Linked DNA regions of Homo sapiens: region 2 is linked to region 1. The links are contacts of gene promoters, found by promoter capture Hi-C in human tissues and cell types (Jung and others, 2019). All regions are on one chromosome and are shown on one strand. Each heading gives the region's core, a stretch centred on a gene start or on the middle of the fragment in contact. The rest is flanking DNA. Distances are from core to core; before and after follow the strand shown. Region 1 holds the start of ZNF843 (zinc finger protein 843). Region 2 overlaps ITGAM (integrin subunit alpha M).

Region 1 (4,807 bases), core at 1,289-3,788:
TTTTTATTTTTCCTTGCCTCATGGCAAGAGCTTCCAGGCAAGAACTGGTGAGAGCTTCCAGTACAAGGCTGAATAGATGTGGCAAAAGTGGGCATCCCTTTCTTGTTTCTGATCTTAGAGGAAAAGCTTTTATTCTCTCACCATTGAGTATGATGTTGGCAGTGGGTTTTTTCATAGATGCCCTTTATCACGTTAATTGAGTTTCCTTCTATTCCTAGTTTGCTGAGTATTTTTATGATGAAGGGTGCTGAATTTTGTCAAATGCTGTTTTTACACCAATTGAAATAATAATGTTTTCCTTTATTGTATTGATGTAGTGTATTAATTTATTTTCATAAGTTAAGCTAACCGTACATTCCTGGGATAAATCCCACCTGGTTATCCTTTTTATATATTTCTGAATTTTATTTGCCGGTATTTTCTTGAGGATTTTTATGTCTATATTCATAAGAGATATTAGTCTCTAGTTTTCTTGTGATGTCTTTGTCTGATTTTGATAGTAGGGTAATACTGGCCTCAGAATAAGTTGGGAGGTTTTCACTGTCATGACTTTTATAACCTAATTATAAGTAATTCTTGCCAGGTACGGTGGCTCATGCATGTAATCCCAGCACTTTGGGAGGCTGAGGTGGGTGGATCACCTAAGGTCAGGAGTTCGAGACCAGCCTGGCCAACATGGCAAAACCCCATCTCTATTAAAAATACAAAATTTAGCCAGGTGTGGTGGCCGTGTGTGTAATCCCAGCTACTTGGGAGGCTGAGGCACGAGAATCACTTGAACCCAGGAGGCAGAGGTTGCAGTGAGCCGAGATCGTGCCACTGCACTCCAGCCTGGGTGATAGAGCAAGACTCTGTCAAAAAAAGAAAGAAAGAGAGAGGAAAGAAAGAAAGAGAATGAGAGAAAGAGAGAAAGAAAGAAACTCCTATAGTATTCCACAGGTCACATAGACCAACCCTGGTGCATTGTGGGAAGGGACTAAAAAGGGTGTGAACACCAGGAGTAGGATCACTGGGAACTATCTCAGCAGATGGCTGCCATAGCCACCAACTGACTAACATTCACTGAACACTCACCATGTGCCAGACATTGTGCTAAGCTCTTCACTTGGCTTATCTCCTTGAATCTTCCCAGCAACCTTATGAGGTAAGTAGGTGCTGTTATTATTGCCATGTTACAGATGAAGAAATTGAGATACAGAGATTAGATTCACCAAACTGCCCAAACTCCCACAGCTATTAACTGGTGGAACCAGGAATCAAACTCAGTAGGGTGTGCATATAATATACTTTGGGTGGTGGTGGTTGTTGTTGTTGTTGTTGTTGTTGTTGTTGTTGTTGTTGTTTTGAGACAGGGTTTCACTCTTTCACCCAGGCTGGAGTGCAGTGGCATGATCTGCAACCTCTGCAACACTGCAACCTCTGCCTCCTGGGTTCAAGCGATTCTCCTGCCTCAGTCTCCTAAGTAGCTGGGATTACAGGTGTGCACCACCATACCCGGCTAATTTTTGTATTTTTAGTAGAATAATTTTTGTATTTTTAGTTTCACCATGTTGGCCAGGCTGGTCTCGAACTCCTGACCTCAACTGATCCACTACCCTTGCCCTCCCAAAGTGCTGGGATTACAGGCGTGAGCCACCGCGTCTAGCTTTTTTTTTTTTTTTTTTTTTTTTTAAGAGACATGGTCTTGCTCTGTTGCCCAGGCTGGAGTGCAGAGGTGTCACCATAGCTCACTGCACCTTCAACCTCCTGGGCTCAAGTGATCCTCCCACTTAAGCATCCTGAGTAGCTGGGACCACAGGCGCCCACCACCAAGTCCGGCTAAATTTTAATTTTTTTTTGTAGAGATGGGGGTCTCGCTTTGTTGCCCAGGCTGATCCCTAACTCCTGGCCTCAAGCAGTCCTCCCGCCTTGGCCTCCCAAAGTGTTGGGATTACAGGCGTGAGCCACTGCGCTCAGTCTGTGTATCCTGATTACTAAATTTTGGGGTGTCTCCTTAAATTCTGTGCCAGAAGCCAGTGCCTCACTCGCCCTACCCTAATTCCACCCATCCCGGTGACCCAATGTCCCCGTTCAACCTGCACCATGGCGCTTCCCAGCCCCGCTCCTAGCGCCTCCTCCCGCCCCTAGGGGTCGCCGTCGCGCCGTCATTCCCTTCCTTCGATGCCCGGGCGAGACGCGCAAAAGGTGGGAGGAGGAGAGGCCCGCGTGTGTGCATGCGCATGGCGCGGACTCCCTCATCCTGGTCAGGGAGTGGAGGGGTTGGGTCTCAGGCAGCTGTTAGCGGAGTCCTCAGTGTCTCGGTCGTTTCTCCCTGTCTTGGTGAGGGCCAGGGGACAGGTCGGGGCAGTATTTGGGGGAAGCGAGAGGCAAGCAGGGCGGGCTGGATACGGAGCGCCCTATGACTGAGGTTAGGGAGGACGCCCGAGACCCCCGGCATCCTAGTCCTGGGCCGTGGGCTCCGGACGCCGGGCCAGGACGCCTCCAGCTCCCAGGGTCCCTTGCGGGGACCATGTTTCCCCACAGGCCCCGCGGCTGCCGGGTCCTCGCCACGTCCCCTTCCCGGAGCTACGCGCCCGGCTGGGTTCCGATCCGCCGTGTCTCTCGGGGGCGGCTCGCGGGGCAGGGGCGCTCCCGGCTCGGCCGCACGCCCAAGTGTCATGCGGGAGGTACGCGGGCACGGGACCTCACCGGGTAAGAGCGAGCGAAGGGGCCGGGCGCGGTGGCTCACGCCCGTAATCCCAGCACTTTGGGAGGCCGAGGCGGGCGGATCACGAGGTCAGGAGTTCGAGACCAGCGTGGCCAATATAGTGAAATCCCTTCTCTACTAAAAATGCAAAAATTAGCCGGGCGTGGTGGCGGACGCCTGTGGTCCCAGCTACTCGGGAGGCTGAGGCAGGAGAATCGCTTGAACCCGGGAGGCAGGGGTTGCAATGAGCCGAGATCTCGCCACTGCACTCCAGCCTGGGGAACACAGCGAGACTCCGTCTCAAAAATAAATAAATAAATAAATAAATAAATAAATAAAATCGAGCGAAGGGCCGCAGCCCGGGCCCACCGCCTCCACCTGAACACGCGCCTCCGCCGAGCCCCTCGACCCCGCGCCAGGCGAGGCTTGGTGGGGCGTTCCGTGGACCCCACACGCACGTCGGTGTTATCAGGAGGGAAGGGGCGGGCCAACACCTCCACCGCCTTTGCGGCCGGCCGTCCACCCTCCATTCTCCTGCTGGAGCCGTTTCCCAGCGATTCTCCGGCAGTGCTGGCTGCAGCACACCCGGCCCGCCTTAAAATCTCAGCCGCCTCCCCCGTCCCGGAGTCCTCCCCTGGGTTCTGTCCTTAACTGCATCACCGACCCCACATACACACAGGCATGAACACCCATCTTTTCACACGCCCCGTTTGCTTTCTCAGAACTTAGCAGATACTCTTAAGCTGAGAGGGTTTGGTGAGGTTAAAATTTATCTTGTGACATTGAGTCCAGCAGTTCAGAGCCTTGAACACCTCAGTACATGGCCTTGACCTTAGTTTATTACTTCTGTATTCTGCCGGGCGCTGCGGCTCACGTCTGTAATCCCAGCACTTCGGGAAGCCAAGGCGGGAGGATCGCTTGAGCCCAAGAGTTGGAGAGTAGCGTAGGCAACAATGAGATCCTGTCTACACTAATTATTTAAAAAAAAAAAATTAGCCAGGTGTGGTGGTGCACACCTGTGATCCCAGCTACTCAGGAGGCTGAGGGAGGACCGCTTGAGCCCAGGAGGTCGAGGCTGCAGTGAGCCATGATGGTGCCACTGCACTCCAGCCTGGATGATAGAGGGAGAGCCTGTCTCTAATACTAATAATAATCAATAATAATACTGTACGGTGTGCCCATTACTCAGGAGGCACTGTAGTAGAAGGATAAGCTGTGGCGGTAACTGAGGATAAACAGATAACCATTTAGCTAAAAAGGTTCTTAACCTTGGCTGTATGTTGTTACTCCTGGGTGCAGCACAGGCAAAATAATTTTGAAAGCTCCCAGGTAATCCTAATGTGCAGCTAGCACTGAGAACCACTGCTTTAACCCCTGAGGAAGGTAGGTAGGGCCTAGGGTGGCCCGAAGCACTGGGCCGGGCACCTTCAGTAGGGAGCAATCTCAACCCTTTATCCCTGTGAGTTACTCATATTGTAACATTTTCTGTGGGTTCCATGCTGTGAAAACAGTAAGCACTGCCCTACAGTAACAAGCATGCTTGACAGCCCTTGTGTCAGATCATCCATTGGAAGAGAGGGGAATCAAATCACAAAAGGCCAACTGGAAAACACACTCATCTAGGGAAGAGATTAGGAAAGCCTGGGCAAGGCTGATGACAGGGAATGTAAGAGAGGAGTTATAGTCACAGGAAGAATGTTGAGTGATAGTAGAAAACTAGATGGAAATTTCTGGCAGCCTGTGGTACTTTTAATTGGCACAAGGACTGATTTCGGTAACAGGTCCCCCTGACTCCCAAAGGAGAGCTGCGGGAATTGCTGTGGTCTTCCTAGGGCCCTCAAGACCATGAATGGGCTGGAGTCTGGACCAGTCTCAGGCACTAGCAAATTGGACAGTAGCTCATTCATACTGGTATAAGAGCTGCTGCTTTATCGAGGCCAGAGGCCCTTTCTTATATGGGGCAGCAGCTGCGCTCCTGGGAATGATTCCTACATAAAAGATTCCACATGGAAAAAAAATAAGCTCTGTGCATTCCATGAAGATGCTCATTACAGCATTATCTCTACTAATGATCTATTCCAATAATAAAGGAAATGAATACAATATAATATGGTATTTCAA
Region 2 (4,807 bases), core at 1,006-3,505, 180 kb after region 1:
AAAGACCAACTGTTCCTCAGAAGGAAGCCAGCTCCACATGACTCTCTCCAGACCCTGGTGAGCTCTCCCTCTCCTCAACCCATAAACCCAGGGGTGGCAACAGACCTGCTTGCCCAGGGCTTGGAAAGTCCCTGATGGCTCCCTTAGGCCTGTCACAGCTTTATAATTACTCCCTTTATAAATAAACCCCCCTCTTTGTAAATAAATCTTACTGAAACCGCCTTTGCAAAATTATGACTGAGACAGTGAAAGAGATCTAACTTAACTGATTCCATCTTGCTTCTAACCTCCAAGCTGTCCGTGTTCATTCCTGGGTGTAGGCTGAGCTAACTTTGGGAGACACTTAGTTTATAGTTTATAGTTTATAGTTTAAACAAAGATCGTAACAGCCCTTTCCCAAAGCAGACCTCCTTCTTACCTGGGGACTAGATTGCCTTTGTAGGACTAACGTTAGCCACAAGATGAGAAATTATGATTTAGGAGTCATGCAGCTGGAGGCTACAAGATTCTGACCCTCCCTAAACTGCTCCTAAAATCAGTGCTTGAGATATTTTGCAGACCTTGCACTTGATGGATCAGCTGGCACTGCCCAGATCAATAAACTGGTTCATCCGATCTTGCTGCCCCCACCCAGGAACCAACTGAACGCAAGAAGACAGCTCCGACTCCCGATGATTTCATCCCTGATCAATCAGCACTCCCAGCTCACTGGCTTCCCCCGCGACCTACCAAGTTATCCTCAAAAACTCTGCCCCCAAATGCTCGAGGAGACTGATTCGAGTGATAATAAAACTCTGGTCCCCTGCATAGCTGGCTCTGTGTGAATTATTCTTTCTCTATCGCAATTCTGCTGTCTTGATGAATCGGCTCTGTCTAGGCAGCAAGCAAGGTGAACCCCTTGGGCAGTTACATTACTGGAATGTGCTTTTGGTCCCAGTTGAGACTCCTACTGATATATGGGACAAGGGCCTCAAAAGGATTCTGGCAGAATCCAGGAATGCCGTTTGATGGAAACAGCACTACAGGGACAAACGTATGTGACGGCGATGGAGACACAGCGGTGGCATCAAGCAAAGAGCAGCGGGCAAGGGCCTTTCTACTCCAATAAGGAGCTCGACTTTATCTGTAGGCAATGGGGAGCCACAGAAGGTTCTTAGAAAAGGAAGTGAGATGATTTGTTTTGTATTTTAGAAAGACTGGCAGGGCACAGTGGCTCATGCCTGTAACCCCAGCACTTTGGGAGGCCTCCTGAATAGCTAAGACCACAGGCACACGCCACCATGCCTGGCTAATTGCATTTTTTGTAGAGATGGGGTCTCATTATGTTGTCTAGGCTGGTCCCAAACTCCTGGCCTCAAACAATCCTCCTGCCTTGACCTCCCAAAGTGCTGGAATTACAGGTGTGAGCTACCGCACCCTTTCGAATTTTGAACCAAGTGTATGTATTATATATTTTTTAATAAATGAAAACTTTTTTAAAGAAGTAGTCTTGAACCCTGAGAGTGAGGTCTAAAGAGGGAGAGGTAGAAGTGTTAGCTGAAGCCACAGAACTGGGTGATTTCAGGAAAGAAGAACACGTGGGTGAAAAGAGAACCCAGAACCCAGTGCCCCTAGGTGGAGAGGGAAGCTGGAGGCCAGCCGGGGGTGAAGAGAATGCACTCAGGAAGCTTGGGTGGTGAGGGTGAGGAGAGATGGCAGGAGATGAGGAGGAGACTGGAAGAGAGAAGATTGTTTTCATGGCTATCGATTGTGGTGGTTGATTGCTTTTCAGATACAGATAGAATGAAGAGTGTTTACAGCCAGAGGAAGGGGGAAGTTAATTGTCCTAGAGAGAAAACAAGTGATTCAAGAGATGCTGGGCCAGGCGCAGTGGCTCACACCTGTGATCCCAGCACTGTGGGAGGCTGAGGTGGGAAGATCTCTTGAGCCCAGGAATTCGAGACCAGCCTGGGCAACAAGGTGAAACCCCATCTCTACAAAAAATACAAAAATCAGTATATGCGCACCTGTGATCCCAGCTACTCTGGAGGCGGAGGCACAAGAATTTCTTGAGCACAGGAGGCAGAGGCTGCAGTGAGCCGAGATTGTGCCACTGCACTCCAGCTTAGGTGACAGAGCAAGACCCTGTCTCCAAAAAAAAAAGAAAAAAGAAAGATAGGTGATCACCTTAGTTGGTGCATGAGAGACTCTCAAAAGCCCATATGGAAGAATTTAGTCATGGGACAGAGGAGAGACAGGTCTTCCTCTAAAACGAGTGAGTCACTGCCAGGAGTGCTGTCATTATGGAAATTTGAGAAAAAGGAGAAAGTGCGGTGTTACAGCTCCTTTAGAATTTGTCAACAAATTCCAGTGAAGACTGGAAAACCGCTTATTAAGATAAAATAAGAGAAGGGGAAAGTGGAGGGAGTCCATGCCTGAAGCTTTTGTTTTCTCTGTGGAGGAAGGAGGATTAACTGTGGAGGGTGAAATATAGAGGAACAGGGCTTGAGAAAGAAAAAAAATGCAAGGGAGAAACATTCGCCTGTGGTCCCAGAATCAACATGAAGACAAGCAAAAAGATGGCATAGCCATCGAACAAAGCAGTGGGAAAAAGCAGCTTGAAAGATCCACGCACTCTGGCCAGGCATGGTGGCTCATGCCCCCCACTCATTCCCTGGCTCATTCCCAGCACTTTGGGAAGCCAAGGTGGGCAGATCACCAGAGCTCAGGAGTTCGAGACCAGCCTGGCCAACATGGTGAAACCCCGTCTCTGCTAAAAATACAAAAATTAGCCGGGTGTGGTGGCGGGCACCTGTAATCCCAGCTACTTGGGAAGATGGGGCAGGAGAATCGCTTGAACCTGGGAGGCAGAGGTTGCAGTAAGCCAAGATCGTGCCACTGCACTCCAGCCTGGGTGACAGAGCGAGACTCTGCCTCAAAAAAAAAAAAAAAAAAAAAAATCCATACAGTCACTCAGAATCTCAATCAACAGAGGTTTGGGGAACAGGGGTGTGGAAGGCCGCCCCCCAGGATGGTCCCCAAGATTCCCACCTCTTGCCAATGACACCTTGCACCATCCCCTCCTCTGCAGTGTGACCTGGACTTATTTTTTAAAGACAGGGTCTTGCTCTGTCACCCAGGTTGGAGTACAGTGGTGCAATCATAACTTGCTGCAGCTTCAACTTCCCAGGCTCAAGTGATCCTCCTGAGTAGCTGGGACTGCAGGTGTGTGCCACCACGCCTGGCTAATTTTTTTTTTTTTTTGTAGAGACGGGGATCTCCCTATGTTGCCCAGGCTTGCCTTGAACTTGTGGCCTCAAGCAATCTTCCCACCTTGGCCTCCAAATAGCTAAGACTACAGGTGCTCATCACCACACTCAGCTAATTTTTTTTTTTTTTTTTTTTAGAGACAGGATCTCACTACATTGCCCAGGCTGATCTCAAGCTCCTGGGCTCCCAAAGCTTTGGGATTGCAGGTATGAGCCACTGTGCCTAGCCAAGGCGTTTTCCTAAAGTACAAGACCCTAGCACCTCCCTAGCTTCTGACTCTAATGGGACCCAGTTCCCCCACTCTTCTGCACCCAGAGCCCAGACCTTGAGCAGACGTCACCTCAGTCCTGCCCCCTCCCCTGGTCTTTTGCTGCGCATCTGTTCCCTCTGCCAAAGGCAACCCACCTCGGAGGGCCTCTGGGAACTTCTGGGGCTGCTGCCGTAGGTTGGATCCAAACAGGAAGCAGAGCCCTTTCACATACGTGTTCTCACTGCAAGTCTGGTGCACGGTGGGACCACAGGCCTAGGGGACAGGAGCCAGTGGAAGGGGCTGCCCCTGCTTCCTGTCCTTGTACCCCAGCACCTCCACCCTCCACAAGACCCCCAGCCCCACCATGCGTGGGCCCCCAAACACCCCCATTAGGATGCTCCTCTGATCGAGCCCCACTCACCAGCAGCTGAGGGGGGCTGGTGGTGGCTGCCAGGGACAGGCCCAGGGACATGTTCACGGCCTCCACGGGGACTGCGGGGACAGATATGGGCATGGTCACCCTGGTGGGGGGACAGAGAAGGCTGTGGAAGAGCTGGGCAGGGGTCACCTCCATGCGGGAGACAAGGAGGTCTGACGGTGAAGGGGGATCCTAAATCTTGGGAAAGAAAGGAACACAGAGGGGTTGCCTGGGGATGTCTAGGGTAGAGACTGCAGGCAGAGGAGAGGGTACGGAGGCAGGCACCTGTGTCCCCACCACAGATCCCCAGGACACAGGAGTGCCTGGAAAGTCCCTATGTGTTCACAGGGGAATCCCAGTCCCAGCCCGGCGGGGCAGTGACTCACCCTGCAGGCGGATGGGCTCGCATGAGCCTGTGCTGTAGTCGCACTGGTAGAGGCTGCCCCTTTGGTTGGCAGCCACTATCTCCTGGGGGGCTCCAACCACCACCCTGTGGGGAGAAGTGGGAACAGAGAAAACTTCGACATGTGGGGAGAGAAGGAGACCACAGAGGAAGTTCTGCCACCCAGAGGACGGTGGGGGCCCATACCCGGATTCCTAAATTCCTATGACTAGGAGGAAGAATTAGCAAAGAAAAAAATGGGAAAATGTTAAGACTCAGAATGAGAAAAGGTCTTCCTAAGAATGACACAAAAACCAGAAGTCATTTAAAAATAGGACCAGGCGCGGTGGCTCATGCTTGTAATCCTAGCACTTTGGGAGGCCAAGGGGGTGGATTGCCTGAGCTCAGGAGTTCAAGATCAGCCTGGGCAACATGGTGAAACCCCGCCTCTACTAAAAATACAAAAAATTAGCCACACGTGGTGGTGCGTACCTGTAATCCCAGCTAA

What was found. Contacts are between HindIII fragments. The study calls those that stand out against the background at their distance.
Region 2: a fragment that was not itself captured here is called in contact with the fragment with the promoter of ZNF843 in region 1 in 1 of the 25 tissues and cell types used here (spleen).

What each region holds. Positions count from the first base shown.
Region 1 is chr16:31,440,520-31,445,326 of GRCh38, reverse strand. It overlaps ZNF843 (zinc finger protein 843), which reads left to right and starts at 2,538. Exons shown (of 2, transcript NM_001136509.3): 1 at 2,538-2,691. RefSeq lists a silencer at 2,522-2,731 and an enhancer at 2,116-2,911. The HindIII fragment of the contact is 16,324 bases long and covers 1-4,807 here.
Region 2 is chr16:31,264,995-31,269,801 of GRCh38, reverse strand. It overlaps ITGAM (integrin subunit alpha M), which reads right to left. Exons shown (of 30, transcript NM_000632.4): 3 at 4,304-4,407; 4 at 3,921-3,991; 5 at 3,655-3,772. Among named protein-coding and RNA genes, the nearest start is that of ITGAM, 7.4 kb to the right of the region's middle. RefSeq lists enhancers at 3,955-4,434, 3,549-4,748. The HindIII fragment of the contact is 5,038 bases long and covers 1-4,774 here.